Regions from separate parts of the Homo sapiens genome. Here region 1 is linked to region 2. Evidence: promoter capture Hi-C in human tissues and cell types (Jung and others, 2019). All regions are on one chromosome and are shown on one strand. Each heading gives the region's core, a stretch centred on a gene start or on the middle of the fragment in contact. The rest is flanking DNA. Distances are from core to core; before and after follow the strand shown.

What was found. Contacts are between HindIII fragments. The study calls those that stand out against the background at their distance.
Region 1: a fragment that was not itself captured here is called in contact with the fragment with the promoter of PSMD6 in region 2 in 1 of the 25 tissues and cell types used here (IMR-90 fibroblasts).

The regions. Positions count from the first base shown.
Region 1 is chr3:64,259,083-64,262,320 of GRCh38, forward strand. It overlaps a transcript of PRICKLE2 not described here. Among named protein-coding and RNA genes, the nearest start is that of PRICKLE2, 35 kb to the left of the region's middle. The HindIII fragment of the contact is 3,565 bases long and covers 37-3,238 here.
Region 2 is chr3:64,021,613-64,024,856 of GRCh38, forward strand. It overlaps PSMD6 (proteasome 26S subunit, non-ATPase 6), which reads right to left and starts at 1,882. Exons shown (of 8, transcript NM_014814.3): 1 at 1,663-1,882; 2 at 706-911. The coding sequence starts at 1,807. LOC105377121 (a long non-coding RNA gene) reads left to right here and starts at 2,463. Exons shown (of 3, transcript XR_940906.3): 1 at 2,463-2,539; 2 at 3,013-3,130. RefSeq lists enhancers at 1,184-1,806, 1,491-1,840, 1,807-2,428 and a silencer at 1,991-2,090. The HindIII fragment of the contact is 10,487 bases long and covers 1-3,244 here.

The DNA.
Region 1 (3,238 bases), core at 569-3,068, 240 kb after region 2:
GAAGATGTAATGTGACCTTTGAGAGATCTGGAACCCACAGTATGCTAATTTTGAAAGGATCCTTGACAATTCTTGGGCCAGAGTTAGCCTTAATCACTTCATTTGACAATAAGACTCAAAGAGAAGGAACATGATAACAGTGGCAGCAACACAGCAGTAGTAAAAATATATAACAGTAAGCCAATATTTACTTGATATTCACTTGTGCTAAGTGCACCACAAGTTTTATCTCATTTAATTTTATAATACGCCTAGGAAGTATACAGGTATATCCCACTAACAGCTGAGGACACTGAAGTTCTGAGGGGTGAGGAAATAGGCCTGACTCCTGGTTTAAACACCCTTGCTGCCTCTTCCTGGGACCGAGGAGCTCGTAGCTAAGTGAGAACTTGATCCAAGTCTCCTAATGCTTGAGTCAATGTGCCTCCGTGGTAGGTTGCAAAATGGCCTCCCAAATATATGTCCATGTCCTGATCCCCAGAACCTGAAAATCATAACATATTTGAAGAAGAAGCCCTTGCAGATATAATTAAATTGAAGGTTTTGAAAGGAAGAGATTATGAGATTATGTAGATTATACAAGTGGGCTCTAGATGTCACCTCAAGTATCCTTAGAGAGGCAGAGGGAAATTTGACACATGCACAGAGGGGAAAGCAATGTGAAGATGGAGGCAGCTACTGGAGTGATGCGGCTGTAACCATGGAAAGCCAAGGATGGATTGTTGGCAGCCACAAGAAGCCGGGACAGACTCTCTCCCAGAGACAGCCAACACCCTGACTTTCAAACTTCTGGCTTCCAGAACAGTAAGAGAATAAATTTCTGTGGTTTTAAGCCACCAAGATTGTGGTAATTTGGTACAGCAGCCCTAGGAAATGAACACTCTCCCTAAGCATAACACAGCAGCATCTAAAGAGAGTGTTCTACAAAATGGCAACAGGTGTCCTTGAAAAACACGCCAGAATCACCAGGTTTGGAAAACAATGTTAAGTGGGTTTCTTTATGATTGGACTTCTCAGGCCCTATGTCATGCTTATTGTCCCTTATGAATCTTTGAGAAGGAGATATGGTACCATAGACTTTCCCAAACTTGACCAGCCTCAGAACTCTCTTGTGAGGCTCCCCTGGCACATTCTCAGGAAGTGCTGCAGTACACCACACTGAACGCACTAACGGGACCCAAGAGGGAACAAAGGCCTGAAAAGCTAAGAGTTATCACTTTGCCAAGCTCATGATTATTCTTCTAAAGCCCCCTAACACAGTGCAGCAGCTACGAGGGCAAGAGTTGCACTAGATAATCTCCATGGTTCATTCCAAATCTAACATTCTCTAATTCTTTATGTACAACAACAGTTCTTGCCCATGGCAGACACTGCTAATCAATCGCAGCACTATTTCCCTAAGCCCTGAAGGGGCCCCTTTAATTCTTTTTAACCAGAGCTGCAGGCAAATAAAACCTCTGTGCTATTCCTGTCTTAGTAACTCAATGAACAGTCCAAATAAATAAACCATGGCTTATGGGTTTTCAGAAATGCCTGCATTACTCTCCTCTCGTCCGGGGAAGGACATCCTCTTCCCTGCCAATATCTGTTGATGTTTTTTTCCACTTTTAGAATACGCAACCCTTTGCTCTGATTTTTAAATTAGTACTCCACCAATAACATTCAGTGAGAGGTTGTGGCTTTTGGGGCCAGAGAGAAGAGCAAGTCTGGGGCACTAAACATACAGTTCAACCTTTGTTCCCTGGGAAAGATCAGCTCTGACAGATTAAAAAATATATATGTTTACTGCTTTCTGAGTTCCAAAGCCATTTGTGGGAGTTGTAGTAGATCTTAAAAACTTTTGGATCCCAAATCAATTCCCAGGACAGCTGCATCTGATCAGACTTCCTAGGCAGGAGAGTTCAGAAGCTTGGGGTCTTCAGAGAAAACCATTAGCTAGGGTTGCAATTTTTAAAAGGTGATGAGACACTCATGCCTCACTTGTACAGAGTGCTGAAATAATGTCTCACTCCAAGGGGTTTACAGACCTCCACAAGGGGCAACTATAATTGATCTGGTTTACAATTAATACAGAAAAAGAAGGCACAGAAATGTGAAGTGTATGGACTTAGCAGCATTGGGAAGCACATTAATCTCTACAACCCCCAGGAAGTAAGAGGGAGATGAGGAAAGGAGGAGAGTAATAAAAATAACTTAAAAATTTTTAATTTCCTAATAATTTTCTTGCAGTGTTAGACACTGGCCCAGGTATCAGTTAATCAGTCAGTCAAAATTTGTTTAGGGAGCCCTCCTAGAAGGAAGGTACTGTCACTGAAGATGGGATTTAAATGATGCAATCCTTGCCTTTAAGGGACAAGAAGGGACAGGGACAGGCTTGTCATATTGAAAATAAAATATTTTGGATCTTGGAAAGTGCTTTGGAGAAAAGTTGGTAAGATAATGTGGCCAAGAAAAATGTGGGCTGTGGAGTGTAGTCATGGAGCAAGGCTAGGCAGGAAGTTCTCTTGACAGAAGGACATTTAAGCTAAGATCTCAATGGTGAGAAGCTCCTAGCCAGGCAAAGATCTATGGGAAGAGCATTCCAAGCAGAAAGAACAGCAAGCACAAAGGCCCAGAGGTAGGCAGAAACTTGGGCTGGCCTGTGACTGAAGCACGGGTGCCAGTAGCCAGGTAGGAAGATGCCCTTGAGAGGTAGGCACGGGCTAGAACTTGTTAAGGTGGGAGAGTCTCACAGGTCACGGCAAAGTGTTTGGGTTTTGTCCTTATTGCAATGAGAAGCTGTCTGAAGGTGTTAAACAGGGTCATGTTATGATGTGATTTAAGCTTCAGAACCACTAGGTGTTTGGGAAGGTTGTCAAGTAATCAAGGTGAAAAATGATGGCAGCATGGACTAAAGTTGGACCTGTGGAGGTTTGAGATATGTATCTTTTCTATCATATTTTTTACAGAGGTGTGATTTACATACAGCAAAATCCATAGACCTTATATGTAGAGTCTCATCAATTTTGAAAAATGCCTATATCCATGTAACGCACACTCTATCAAGATATCAAACATTTTCAGCACCCCAGGAAGTTACCTCAAGCTCCTTTCTAGTCAGTCCTCCCTCCCTCTCACCCTCACCTGCTACAATTTGGGCTATTTTTTTGAAGTAGAACTGAAAGGACTTATTCCCATTGGATAGGATATGGGGAGAGGGTAAGAGAAAGAGAACAATCAAAGGTGCCAAAAGTTTTTA
Region 2 (3,244 bases), core at 632-3,131:
AGCCTGGCCAACATGTTGAAATCCAGTCTCTACTAATAATACAAAAAAATTAGCTGGGTGTGGTGGCGCACGCCTGTAATCTCAACTACTCGGGAGGCTGAGGGAGGAGAATCGATTGAACCCAGCAGGTGGAGGTTGCAGTGAGCCAAGATCACTCCATTGTACTCCAGCCTGGGTGGCAAGAGTGAAACTCCGTCTCAAAAAAAAAAAAAAAATTACCAAAAAGTTTGCATAAATGCACAATAAAAGAACTGAAAAGCCTATCCCTGGGCAGGTACAGAGTAAAGAAAGATAACAGAACTTCAGCATTTACTATACTGTTTCTTAGTTTCTGCTAAGTATTACTCGTGTAAAGTACTAAAGACACCAGAACCAGTGCTTCCCAACCAAGTGAGAAAACTGCTGAAAATGATCCCAATTTTGTAAAAGCAGTAAATAAAATTCTCTAGATGTACACTTACGTTTTTATCGGCATGGGGTGAAATGGGGAAGAATACAGCCCTAGCTGCTGTTTGGGGAAATGACAAGGCATTTCATGGAGACGACTTTTTCATCTTTACATTGATTCACCAGTACAAGCAAGCATGATTACCTTTATACTTTTTCTAAAACGAAGTTAATTTTTTTAATGAGAAACGATTACCTGGAATAGTCTCCAATTTTAGCCTATACTAACTACAGAGAGGGAAAACCATCTCTACTCACTTTGTCACCTATCCGGCAGAGGTACTCGGCCTTTGCCATCATTGCATCGCGAATTTCGCTCTCTCCTAGATTCTTCTCTGCATCTTCCAGCTCCTCATCCAAACGCTTCAACTCATCTTCATTTGCCTTCTTCATTTTATTGAGTAGGTCCACGTCTATCTGCCAGTCGAGGGATTTGCACAAGGCTTCATAGTAAGGAGCCATGTCTAACATGCAAAAAGAGGGATGTGTGAGTGGGGACACTTGTGCCCTCAAGTCAAAGTCTGCCCACGTATTTCACCCCCCGCCCCGCCACAAGTCATCCACCAGTCTCTTCCCCACTAACAGGAAGGCATGCGATGGCGCTTAATAATCGGCTTGGCAAAACATAAACGTATGCTGGTGGGAGGTTTGCGTGACGGCCAATCCTGGCAATGCCAACCTCTACTAGGGCTGGAGGGAGGGCAATCCTCGGTTTGCTCTTGCCGGATTCTGTTCCAAAAGTCTTCAAACAGGGAAAGACTTTTTATACACACATACTCACATACATATGTTCAAACATACACATTCACTACAGAAGGGCCAGAAAGAACCGAACCCAAATTTCCCTTCCACAGGCAAGCTGAACTCTCCCACAGGAATACCCCGCGCCCGGGAGCAGTCCCCACTGACAGAAAGTCACGGGGCCTTTACTCTGTGCCTAGCACAGGGGTAAATATTAATGCCTCACGATTCTCCCCCAAGCTGCCCTTACAGGGGAAGGCGGCACAGAGAGATGCAGACCCCGCTGAGGCAAGTCGAGGTCCCCCAGGGTATCCCCAAACCAAAGCAAAACCCTAAGGGCCGGAGAAGCCAGGCCTGGTCTCTGAGACCCCGTCAGAGGGGTCTGGAGCTCCATCAAAAAAAGTCCCCGCAGGCTCCGGAACGCGGGGACGGCCCAGGCCTAGGCCGCTGACTCGGCGCTCGTGCGGGCCTCACTGTTATCGCGGACGGCCGCCATCAGCTCGTCGCGCACGGCAGCGTCTCCGCGGTGCTCGGGCAGGCTGAGCAGGAAGCGCAGCTGCGCGATACGCAAGTCGGGGTTCTTGGGCAGACCCTCCTCCTCCAGGTTCTCCAGCGGCATCGCGGCGAAGGGGACAGCGGCTGACAGGACACAACTTGGTTACGACCGGCTGCGGCAGCGGAAGCGGGAGGAGTCGGCGAATACGCCCGGCCGCCTGCGGCCCGGCTTCCGGTCCCGTCTCCGCCGGCAGCGTCCTCTGCTGGACACCTCCGGGAACGCCTCACCCGGCCTGGGCGCCTGCGCCCCTGTGTGGTCACGGGGGCTTTTCCACCCTCAAGGCCCCCTGCGGAGTCCCAGAGTGGGTGCAGCCCAACTCAAAAGCCCAATTTCTTGAATCTCTTTCTCACTCCCTTTTTAGCTATTTTACTTTCCGTTTGTAACTGATGGGAGCTTAAAATTTTTTGAAAACTGAAAATGTAATAACAGCATTAATAAAAACAATCACCATAGTTTGTCGAGTCGTTACTCTCATTCATCTTATTAAAATCATCTTCATGCTGCGAGGTAGTACTATTAGCCTATTTAGTAGGTAAGACAAATGAGGCACAAAGAGGTTAGGGAAACAGACCAACCAAGGTCATGTAACAGCCATGTCGCAAGGCCTAAATGAAAACCCCTATCTAGAACTCTAAAATCCACATTCTTTCTGCGGTTTTAAGAAGAAAAAAAAACTGCACCCAGGATTCTACGTCATAGTACAACAGCATCATCGTTTTGTTTACACATAAATTAAATCATTACATGCCTGCATTTTCAGCTTCCTTTTGTTCACATTGCTACAGATCTTCAGAGGTGGTAATCTTTACATTAAATTCCTTTTTTTTTTGAAACGGAGTCTTGCCCTGTCACCCAGGCTGGAGTGCAGTGGCACAATCTTGGCTCACTGCAACCTCTGCCTCCCAGCTTCAATCGATTCTCCTGCCTCAGCCTCCCAAGTAGCTGGGATTACAGGCCTGCACCACCATGCCGGGCTAATTTTTGTATTTTTAGTAGAGACGGGGTTTCACCATGTTGGCCAGGCTGGTCTTGACCTTCTGACCTCAAGTGATTCCCCCGCCTCAGTCGTCCAAAGTGCTGGGATTACAGGTGTGGGCCACCATGCCTGGCCTAAATTCCATCTAATGGATTTACCATAATTTACTTTCACTCTTCCCTCTGTTAGAGGTGTCTTTAGGTTGACCAGAGTTTTTACTTACCTAATATAAAAACTTGGATGAAGACTTTGGATGTCTAGATCACTTCATGTTTTGCATCTTTTTCCTTAGCATAAAATCCCATGAAGGAATAACGGACAAAGGGAAGAAGGATTTTGTGACTTGGGGATATTTAATGTTAAATGGTTTTCCAAAAGAGCTGAACCAGTTTACACAGCTGCTGAAACAGGTGAGACTGCCACATCTCACAGGCAGTAGGCATCATCACATAATTTAAATCTATTATTTGTTTCTATAAAAATGAAACAAGCATTTTGAAGACAACTCAAATGATAGAGAAAAT